Linked DNA regions of Homo sapiens: all the other regions are linked to region 3. The links are contacts of gene promoters, found by promoter capture Hi-C in blood cells and fetal thymus (Javierre and others, 2016). All regions are on one chromosome and are shown on one strand. Each heading gives the region's core, a stretch centred on a gene start or on the middle of the fragment in contact. The rest is flanking DNA. Distances are from core to core; before and after follow the strand shown.

Region 1 (2,700 bases), core at 99-2,598, 270 kb after region 3:
AGACAGAGTGAGACTCCATCTCAAAAAAAAAAAAAAAAAAAAAAAAGGAAAAAAAGGCTTTTTGAAGAAAGAAGGGGTAGAGATTTCTTTCAGTACTATGTCAAGAGCTGAGGATATAGCTGAAATCAAGACAGTCATGGTCCCTGCCCTTGTGCAGTTAACATGCTGGTAGGGCAGGGGTGAAATATAAACAAGTAAATACACAAAATAATTTCATATTGATAATTACTATGAAAGAAATAGTGAGATTTGTTAGTAACTAAAAAGGTGACCTACCTACTTTAAGTTGTATGGTCAAGGAAGGTATCTCTGAGGAAATGACATTTGAACAGAGACCTGGAAGATAAGAGGGACCTAACTATTAGAAATGTTAGGGGAAGAACATTTCAGGCAGAGGGGACAGCCAGTGCAAAGGGATTGGAATGGGAAAGAAATTTTGAGCAAGGAAGTGAGTGTGGATGGTGTTGAATCTGAATGAATAAAGGGAGAGTGGTTTGTATATGGAAGGAGAGGCAAGGGCCAGTTGGTACAGAGCTGTATAGAGAAGGGTAAAAAGTTTGGATTTTTTCTGAAGAACAATGGGAAGCCATTGAAGGGTTTTGAGTAAAGTACTGTATTACCTGACTTATGTTTTAAAAAGCTTACTCTGGTTTCCATGCAAAGAATGGACTGGAGAAGGGTAAAAGAAGAGGCAGAATGCAAGTTAGGAGGCTGTGACAGTACAGATAAGAAATTATAGTGGTTTGGATTAGATTGGAGGTAGTAAAGATGGGGAGAAGCAGATCAATTCCAGGTGTGTTTCAGAGTACAATATCACTTTTGATGGGAGGTCAGGAAATGAAAAAATCAAGAATGGATGTATGGTGGTGCCACTTACCAAGGTTGTTGGAAAGGAATTAACCCAATATGTTAAAACTGAACAAGTCTTTGGAGTTCAAACCTCCTTTATGACTGATCAAGAGAGTAAGGTTTGGAGAAAAGTAATGCTCATAGAGGTTAGTGATTTGCCCAAGCTAATATGTGACAAGTGGTAATTTGCTGAAAGCAGAAAGCCTTCATGGAGTAGTAATTAAAAAGATGAGATTGGGAAGGAGGATGAATGGTAGTGGAAGGTCTTGAATGGTAAATTGAGGATTTTTCTTTGTTACAACTAGCAAGAGAACCACTGTGGGGGAAGAGGACCATGAAAGTAATGTTAGGAGATTGGGCTTAGCAGTAACGTAAATGAAGAAGAAAATAAGAGGAGGCAGAATTTCACCCACCGAGATAGGGAATAAGGGAGAATGCGCAAGTTTGATAGAAAATATCAGTGGGATAATTTACATTTGAAGTGCCTGTGGAATATCTAAGTAGAGAAGTTGAAAAAGGCAGTTGGATCTATGGGTCTAGAATTGAGGTGACATCTGGACATGAGATAGAGTCATCATCATAAAGGTAGTAATTTATGCAATGAAAACAGATAAAATTGCCCTGGGAGTATATGTAGAGTGACAAAGGACCAAAGATAGAGCGATGAGGAACACTAACATTTAAGAAATGAACATAGGCAAAGGAACCAGTGAGAGAGACAGGAACAGAATAAACAGGTGGTTTTAGAGGCCAGTGGAGGAGCGTTTCAGGATAAATGAAATGTTGAGTTTATTGCAGCATTGTTTCTAATGGCAAACATATGAAAATAATCTAAATGCCCATTAGTAAATAGTTAAGGTATGCTTATACCACAAACTTGTCTGTCAAGGATGTGCTGTTTTAAAATGCAGAAAGTAGGGCAGACATAAGAAAATAGATGCTAAGCTGGTTATAAGATAACCTGGCATTATACCTGCCTAAGTTACATTGTGTGTGTGCACATGCTTTAGTTTTTGCATCTGGCAGACACTGTTAGTTGGCTAAATTATCACCCATCCTTAGCCCTTTTCTTTATGCTGAACTCCTCTATAGAGATTATAAAAGCTAAATTCTCTCCCAATGTCTGTTAGAGCTAGGAGTGGCCATATGAGTTCTGACCAAGAAGATATGGGCAAAAAACTGCTGAAGGAACTTCTGGGAAAGCTTTTCCTTTTCTGATAAAAGCAATTGATGGTGTTAGTGTAGTCCCTCCTCCTTCCTCATTTCTTGAATGTGGATATAATGCCTGGAGCTGGGGTATTCATCTGTGACCATGAAGGAATGTCCAAGAGAATTAACAGAGTCAATAGCCCTGAAGTTGTTAAGCTGCTGAGTTAGTATCAGCAGCTTCTATGTCTAGACTTCTTGTTATGTGAGAAAAATAAATCTCCATTTAAACTACGGTAAGTTGGCTTTTCTTGTGGCTGAACTCTTTTCTGCTACATGGGGTATATTTTTATTTAAAATTTTTAAAAATGTAAATAATTTAAAACTTTTAAAAATTTAAAGCTGTTGCTTGTGTTAGGGATCTCCATATCTCCAAGTAAATGGTGATACTGCTATTTCTTAATTAACTGTTTTCATCACTATCTATCTAGTCTTACTTTTTTTTTTTTTTTTTTTTTGAGGCAGGGTCTCGCTTTGTTGCCCAGGCTGGAGTGCAGTGGTGTGATCTTGGCTCACTACCACCTCCACCTTCTAGGCTCAAATTAGTCTCCTACCTCAGCCTCCCAGGTAGCTGGGGCTACAGGCGTGCACTACCATGCCTGGCTAATTTTTGTATTTTTTGTAGAGGCAGAATTTCACCATGTT
Region 2 (2,700 bases), core at 137-2,636, 480 kb before region 3:
GCTGTCCACGGAGTTACTGTTGCTTCTCAATTATAACTAGTGTTAGAAGGCTTGATTTCATAAATGTTCTTTTTAATCCAAAGATAGATCATATATGAAAACCTTCCTCAATACTCCTTTCAAATCAGATGCATATAAACTATGATCCCAATTTCCCTGTTAGACGTATTTCTGTTGGATATTTCCTCCGTTGTCACCACAGAGGAAGGGAAAAAGCAGAAAAGCTGCCCACCTAACAAAGGCTAACATAATGGCTAGGCTAATATATTGACATGCTATCATCTTTATGATGTTTTGAATCTAACTAGCAGACATACAGTCAACTTCCTGTTGACCATGTGCATCTAATCTGCTTTCTTAATTATACAAATAATTTTTATTTCAAATTAGCTTCTTTCTACTACTCAGTATAATCCTCTCACAGCCTGGCATATACTTGGTAGCACATCATTCACTAGAGAGAGTACGAGAGAAAATTAGGTTGACAATATGGGGCAAAGGGGTAGTCTCCTTTAAGGTGAGGGGAAAGGAGATGGGAATGAAACATGCCAAGTGTATGATGGTTAGGGAAAGAAATATCTTAGTAGAAGCTAGAAAACCTCTACTAACAGGATCACATTCCAAAAGGGCAACCAGGAAATGGCAATGACTCCATGACTTCTCTGTCAGAGCACCAATGGTCAAAGGCATTCCATGTCAAGTGTCAGGAAATGGAAAGCGAACCGGCCAATCTAGTTTAACAGCACATACTCGGAAAAGGAAACACGCTGCCAAAGGAAAGAGCTGACATCCAGTCCACAGAGGTTCTGAGTACCCAGTGGCAGTGAGCCCCTCCAAACTCTGCAGAGCTGACTGTGCTGTCTGCACCCTGCCTCATTTGGGGAAGAATCTGAGAGAGCTAAAAGACAAATTTCAGAAGGTGATGTTTTCAAAGAAAGAGTAAACAAACAGCTTGACAATGTTGACTTTTTTTTTCTTTTCAGGTAACCCTTGTTTGCAGGAAGATAAATAAGAAGGCTTCCTTAGGATACTGACCCACTTAGAGAGGCACAGAAGGAAGAAGAGTTAAAAGCAGCAAAGCCGGGTTTTTTTGTTTTGTTTTGTTTTGTTTTGTTTTGAGATGGAGTCTCACTCTGTTGCCCAAGCTGGAGTACAACGGCATGATCTCAGCTCGCTGCAACCTCCGCCTCCCACGTTCAAGTGATTCTCCTGCCTCAGCCTCCCAAGTAGCTGGGATTACAGGCGCCCGCCACCACGCTCAGCTAATTTTTTTTGTATTTTTAGTAGAGACAGGGTTTCACCAGGTTGGCCAGGCTGCTCTTGAACTCCTGACCTCAGGTGATCCACCCGCCTCGGCCTCCCAAAGTGCTGGGATTACAGGCGTGAGCCACCACGCCCGGCCCCCAAAGCTGTTTCTTTTGTCTTTAGCGTAAAGCTCTCCTGCCATGCAGTATCTACATAACTGACGTGACTGCCAGCAAGCTCAGTCACTCCGTGGTCTTTTTCTCTTTCCAGTTCTTCTCTCTCTCTTCAAGTTCTGCCTCAGTGAAAGCTGCAGGTCCCCAGTTAGTGATCAGGTGAGGGTTCTTTGAACCTAAGAGGCAAACATGCTTTAAATACAGGAAGTATTATATTCTTCAGGATACCCCATCATTTTTCTACAGACAAAATAGTAACTTCCCTACTTTATTTCTTCTTTGAGGAACATGCATAAATGTCATACCAGCTAAAACAATTAGAAGATGTATACCAAGGGGATTAACTGGGCCCTCTTACCTATTAGGGGATAAGATTTTCAAGAGAAATTTATCCTGAACAGCTTGGTTTTTTTACATTTGGGCTAAAAAAGTTTCTTTAGTACAATTCAAATACACAAGTGAAACAGAAAAATAAATTTAAAAATAAATATATGGGCAGGGCGTGGTGGCTCACGCCTGTAATTCCAGGACTTTGGGAGGCTGAGGCGGGCGGATCACGAGGTCAGGAGATCAAGACCATCCTGGTTAACACGGTGAAACCCCGTCTCTACTAAAAATACAAAAAATTAGCCGGTCGTGGTGGCGGGCACCTGTAGTCCCAGCTACTTGGGAGGTTAAGGCAGGAGAATGGCATGAACCCAGGAGGCGGAGCTTGCAGTGAGCCAAGATCGCACCACTGCACTCCATCCAGCCTGGGCGACAGAGCGAGACTCCATCTCAAAATAAATAAATTAATTAAATAAAATAAAAATGAAAAATAAAAATAAATATATGATTACTTCATAGAGTCTGTTACCTGGTTCTATCAGTCGAATTAATCCTTCATGATGGGCCACTTTGTCCTTCCAGCTCTTGGTCTTATTAGTTGCCATCTCCAGCTTCTTTTTAACTTCCTGAAACAAAAGTGGATTTTGGACTATGCAGACACACGGGTAGTTTAAGAACCAAATCACAACTATTGGGCCCTTACTATGTATTTGTGAATTATCTCATTAAATCCTCTCATAGCCCATTCTAAGAAGTGGGAACTACTATTACCCCATTGTACAGAGTGAAAACGGGTTCAGAGAAGGTCAGTAACCTGCCGAGAGTCACACAGCAGGAAATGGTAGAGCCAGAATTGGAACCCAGGCTGTCTGATTCCAAAGCCTATTCTTCCACCATCTGCATACGAATTACAATGGGTGTATGGCCCTGTGTGCCAGTTACAGTTTACTGCCTC
Region 3 (2,700 bases), core at 42-2,541:
CGAGACCAGCCTGACCAACACGGTGAATCCCTGTCTCTACTGAATACAAAAAATTAGCCGAGTGTGGTGGTGCGCGCCTGTAATCCTAGCTACTTGGGTGGCTGAGGCAGGAGAATCACTTGAACCTGGGAGGCAGAGGTGCAGTGAGCCGAGATTACGCCATTGCACTCCAGCCTGGGCAACAAGACAGAACTCCGTCTTGAAAAAAAAAATCTGTAATATTTACTGAGTGATTTCCATGTTCCAGGCAGTATTCTCATTGTTTTACCTGTACTTGCATTTACCTTATGTAATTGTCTCAAAAACCATGACGCCAGGCACTTAGAGATTAACTTGCTCAAGGTCAAAAGTAAATGATCGTCAGGATTGAAATCCGAGCATTTTTTTCTAGAGCCCATGCTAGTGACCACTATACCTGTGTTGCCTTTCTGGCCTCTGATCTCCAGTTTCCAACAAAGACACATCTGCCTAGCTTCTATGGGAAAGGAAATCGGAGGGTCCTAGGACAAGGACCAATAGGTAAGTTTCCCTTCGCCTCCTCCCTATCCTCTTACAGGAAAACAGGTTTAGGGGTGGATCTGAGAGTTTTCACAGAGTGAAGAGGAAGAGGAGCTCCCAAATGGCAGGCGCCTCTGGAGGCTTCCAGAGAAAAAAGGAGAGAGCGTGGGAAAAGGGCAGGCTGGGAGGTGGGAGCGGCGAGGAACGGGGAGCTGACCACAAGCCCAGGATTCCAGACCAGGCTTATGTCTCTTAGACTCAGCGTAACCTTGGATAAGTCCTTGCTTCTTTCTGAGACTCAGTTTCCCCGTCTGTAAAATAAGGGTAAATATAAAACCGGCTCATCCGCCCCTGCCAAAAGAGAGGACAGGGAGAAGGCCCTGTCTGGGGTCTAGGCTGACACGCTGCAGCTAGGATTAGGTGAGCTTCCGAGCTCAGTCGTGAGACCCCATCCTCATGGCAAGGCCGCGCTAAGATCTCTGGACCTCTGCTTGCTGGGTGGGTGGTTGGGGGCAGAGCATGGGCCAAATGCCCGGCTCTGCAGGCTGCGCCCACTCTTCTCGCACCTCCTCAGCCCTCCCTAAAGGAGTCTCAATCCCGGGGGAGTGGCAGTTGCGGGCGACCAAGCAGTCACCGGCTGCGCTGCGGCGACCTCCCGGGAAGCTGCGGCCGGCGGGGTCCGAAGAGCATCACGTCATCCTTTCCCCCAGGAGCCCGCCCCCTCCCAGACGGCGCCTGCGCAGGCGCGGTAGGAGGAGGGTCACGGTGGGGGCTGTCCACGCGCTCTCCGCCCTTCTCCAGGCTCGCTCGGGCCGCGGCGCTCTCGGCTAGCTGCAGCGGCGGCGGCGCGGAGGGGAAGGCATCCAGGATGCGGTGCGGGGCGGCCCGGTGCCCCCCCGCCCCGTCACGGCAGCCGCGGCGGCCGAGGGGACCGGGCCAGGGCCGGGGGCGGCGGCCCGAGCCGCGGTAGCGGCGGCGGCGGGAGGGGCGGCCTGAGGGCGGACGGGCGGGCGCCCGGGTTGCGGGGGCTCGGTGCCGCTCCGCACTGCCCGGCCGGTCTCGGCCCCGGCGCCATGAGTGGCGGCGGCGGCGGAGGGGGCTCGGCGCCCAGTCGCTTCGCCGACTACTTTGTCATCTGCGGACTGGACACGGAGACCGGGCTGGAGCCGGACGAGCTGTCGGGTGAGTGCGCGCCGAGCCCGGGGCGCTTTCCCGCGCCCGCTGTCGTCGGGGACCCCAGAAGAAACCTTCCTTCAGCCCCGCTTTGTCCCGGGAGCCGGGCGAGTGTCGGCCGGGAGGACCAGGGCGGGCGCGGGCGAAGGGGGCTTTGGACTGGAGGGGGGAAACGGATGAGGGGCTCTGAGCCATGAGGGGTCCAAACCTACGGCCCGCTGCGCAGTGGCCACGTCTTCGGCGACCAGAAAGAGGGAGGGTTGTGTGTTCTCAGTTTGGTGTAGGTTGAGTGACTTCGTTTAAAATAAAGGAAAGCTTGTCCTCTGGCACCCATTAGGGAGGGAAGGCGTCCCACGTCCTAGTGAAAGTAAGTTCCACCCAGACTTAAAAAAAAGGAAAACAAAAACTTGGTGAGTTTATCTGGCCACTTCCCAAGAAGCTTGTGATACTAGTTCCTCAAAACCGTTATACCCCAGCCCTGGGCTGGGCCCCCTGAGTCAGATTGCAGCTCTGCGCGTCTGGATGGGATATGAAGTAATAAAGTGAACTTGGGCGGCACCAAGAAGAGTAGGAACTCCCTTAGCCTTGGAAAGGGCTTGTATCCCGGGGCCATGCCTTTTTTGAAAAGTAATTTATGTCCTTTATGAGGACAGAGGCGTTTGTGAATAAAAGGGTAGCAGCATTGTAGTTGGAGAGGCTTGGTGTGTTCTGATGCGTTTCAAGTCATATTTGAAAGGGAAAGTGATGAGGGGAGTCAAAGATGGGGCCCTGACCAGATTTGGCACTCACTGCAGAAGGCCGTGAAAATTATACAGTCCCCGTGAATTTTCCACTGCACTGTCATTGGAGTCTTTGAATTGTAACAGTTTTGAAAATAAGTTTTTGTCTGGAGTTTCCAGTTAGTGGGTTTCAAGTGGGTGGAGGTTTGTCGGGTTGTACTTTAAGGTTGTGTCATCCTGATGAGGGGGACTCCTTTTCACTTTTCTGTCACTGTAAAGTTTCTCTTTCGAAAGTGATTATCCTGTTGAC
Region 4 (2,700 bases), core at 88-2,587, 260 kb before region 3:
GATCTGGCTCTCTGGGCAGCTGTCACCTCTAGAGAATTAAGAAAGCCTCGTCCCTCCCTTAACTCTAAGTTCTTTTGAGTTCAGACTAGGGCACATTTTCTTTGTAGTGGCCTCAAGCTTTGTCTGGGGCAAAGCAGGGTGGTTTTTTTGGACGGAGAGGTTTTCCTTGAGCACTGTCTGGATCAAATTCCAGAGGGTTATGCCCCACCTGGTTCTGTTTGCTAGCGTTTACTCTTATTTCAAGTGTCTTTTTGGGATTTTTCAACCTTGGACGTTTCCATGTCCTGCACTGTGAAGAGACCCTATAGCAGCTTTCCTAGCAATTGTCAGCACACCAACTGCACCCTTCCCCTGGAGGAAACAGGCCACCTTGCCAGGCTCCTGAGGCCCCATTCCCAAGAAGGCAGGTCAGGTTAAACTAGCAGCGACCCTAGGCCCTTTTCTCTGGGTGCCAGAGGTCATTTTCTTTTGAGCTGAGGGATAATCAGGCTAACCAAAACAGTCCAGGTTAAGCCCTGCCCAATCCAACTGGCAAAGGTGCTGGGAGTAAAGAGAAACACCCTGGAATTTGAGCAAAGTCAGATCTAAGGGGCCATGGGAGGCTGACAGCTTGGTTTTTGGTCCTGGGAAGTACAGCAGCCTGGCTGGGCCCAGTGGGGAGGAGCTCCTGGCCAGCAGCCAGGACCAGCACTGGGAGGCTGGGCGCCACCCTGCCTGCGATTTTGCAGATTCTGGTCTTCTACCCCGCCCAACAGCCCCTTTCTGAGCCTCAGTGGGCTTCCGGGGGGAGTTCTGTGTGGGTCTGTGTCTCTGTCAAGAATGAAGACTCGATCGGTGGTTGACTAGGGCTTTTGCTAATGTTATGCATCTGTAAAGGGTTCTGCAGGAAAAGTTCTGCCCAACCCTGAAGGGCTTCCGATTTCAAGTAAGTCACCATCCTTTTTAGCAAGATCATAGAACCTGATCAAAGATAACATTTATGTAAAATCAAACAGCACAACGTTTTCCCCTTTCTACTGTAAAGCTTGAAATGAAAAAGCCACATTTCAGCTCTCTGCAAATAAAGCTCGCTGAACTACAGTGCAGGAGGGGCTGCTGCGGAACACACCATCTTTTTTTTTTTTTTTTTGACCTTGGTGAACGCTGATTTTCCAGCATTAGAAAATGGTTTTTATACTGCTCAATTCATTAGGCAATCAGAAATCACCAAAGTTCATCTTGATAATCTCTGCCACAAATGAGCATTTGAGGAGGTAACTGTGGTGCAGTGAAAACACACTAGACTTGGAGCCAGAAAGTCTGGGTTCTCGTCTTGGTCCTGCCTCTCCATAGCTGTGAGGGCTGGTACGACAGTCAGCCTCCCTCCTGGACTCTTGGTTTCCTCATGTAAAAAACGGAGGTAGTAAATCCCATATGTCTCACAAAATTGTTGTGAATATATAAAAATATATGGAAAAGCACTTACTCTGTACTTGATAAACAACATCCTTTCAATATGTGTATTAGGTTACATTCCATTACATTTGCGATATTTTCTGCACCATTTCCCCCCAACCCCCCACCAATATGATAAATAAATAAATATAAAAGTAACATTTTAAAAATTGCTGTATTCAAAATTAATAATAAACTTTGGGGTAAATAAGCTTTAAAACAAAAGTACATAAGCAAAAATAAATAATTTACACCAACCCACTAACCTAATTTTCAGAGTAAAGCCATTTCCAATTACAGTACTGTTATCCCGGGCACCAGCCTGTGGTTAAACTTTGATGATTCATTATTTTTAAAAAACAGTAATAAAAATTGAATACTAAGCAAAATCTTTAACAAAACCACTGGATTTAACTTTTTAATTTTAAATAACCAAATTTTATAATTTTGTACATAATTCAATGTAATGCCAATATAATTAGCATTTCAGCTTGAAGAGCTGGTTTTTAACAGGGATGGGAAACTATAAATTATTCAAACAGTCTGCAAACCATGAGATACAAATAAAAATGGACAAGCATATAGTAGAACAAAAACCGCAGACACTCTACTAACTGGGGAAATATCTGAAGGCTTTACACCCTTTATTATCCATAATGGCTTTTGGAATTACGATTGTGTGACATATAGAACCTTTGATATTTTAGATACAGCCTTTATTTTTTTTTCCACGGGAAGTTAAAAATCCATCATAAGACTCCATAAGACTTTACTAGTCTTGCATGTAGACTCTAGGAGTTTGTGATCTGATAAAAGAGTAACATGAAAATTTACTGTATTGCCCTAATTTCATACTTCCTTGTACACAATGAATCACTCTGAGAATCTATTCCAAGGGTTATATACACAAAAGTGTCAAGAATAAAATGTTCTCCACTCTCGCATAAAAATGTGTACAGTGTATCAGGAATGGAAAACTTCTAATTTTCCTGGGCCCGGGCTTCATGGATTTCTGCTGCCAGAAGATGAAAGACTCCTTCTGCTTTATTGCTCCATTGTTCTGAGGATTAATCATCCAACCCTGGCGTTTCTCCTTGTTGGATTCTAGACGCTATTCTGATGGCTTCTTCCAGAGATGGCTGTTCTCCAAGCTGAAACAGGAACACACACATCAAACGCTAACAATTCAAAAGCCACAGTCAAGAAAATGCCAAAGAAATGTTATATGCCAGAAGTGAAACTTCTCTCTGTAATTCTGACACTTGG

The links. The method cuts DNA at HindIII sites, captures the fragments that hold promoters and counts their contacts. A CHiCAGO score of 5 or more calls a contact.
Region 1: a contact is called between a fragment that was not itself captured here and the fragment with the promoter of DENND5A in region 3, in 1 of 17 cell types (M1 macrophages). The highest score is 5.7, in M1 macrophages.
Region 2: a fragment that was not itself captured here is called in contact with the fragment with the promoter of DENND5A in region 3 in 1 of 17 cell types (erythroblasts); the score reaches 5.5 in erythroblasts.
Region 4: a fragment that was not itself captured here is called in contact with the fragment with the promoter of DENND5A in region 3 in 3 of 17 cell types (megakaryocytes, erythroblasts and M2 macrophages); the score reaches 7.4 in megakaryocytes.

Annotation. Positions count from the first base shown.
Region 1 is chr11:8,993,622-8,996,321 of GRCh38, reverse strand. All of the region lies in intron 1 of NRIP3 (nuclear receptor interacting protein 3), which reads left to right. Among named protein-coding and RNA genes, the nearest start is that of NRIP3, 9.0 kb to the left of the region's middle. The HindIII fragment of the contact is 1,412 bases long and covers 643-2,054 here.
Region 2 is chr11:9,748,758-9,751,457 of GRCh38, reverse strand. SWAP70 (switching B cell complex subunit SWAP70) reads right to left here. Exons shown (of 12, transcript NM_015055.4): 11 at 2,275-2,371; 12 at 1-1,594. The coding sequence ends at 1,488. Among named protein-coding and RNA genes, the nearest start is that of SBF2-AS1, 8.2 kb to the left of the region's middle. The HindIII fragment of the contact is 2,782 bases long and covers 1-2,700 here.
Region 3 is chr11:9,263,941-9,266,640 of GRCh38, reverse strand. DENND5A (DENN domain containing 5A) reads left to right here and starts at 1,291. Exons shown (of 23, transcript NM_015213.4): 1 at 1,291-1,680. The coding sequence starts at 1,572. RefSeq lists enhancers at 990-1,059, 2,140-2,259, 2,420-2,700 and silencers at 1,340-1,439, 1,490-1,849. The HindIII fragment of the contact is 8,855 bases long and covers 1-1,988 here.
Region 4 is chr11:9,527,415-9,530,114 of GRCh38, reverse strand. ZNF143 (zinc finger protein 143) reads right to left here. Exons shown (of 16, transcript NM_003442.6): 16 at 1,591-2,585. The coding sequence ends at 2,502. Among named protein-coding and RNA genes, the nearest start is that of WEE1, 45 kb to the left of the region's middle. RefSeq lists an enhancer at 1-459. The HindIII fragment of the contact is 622 bases long and covers 1,027-1,648 here.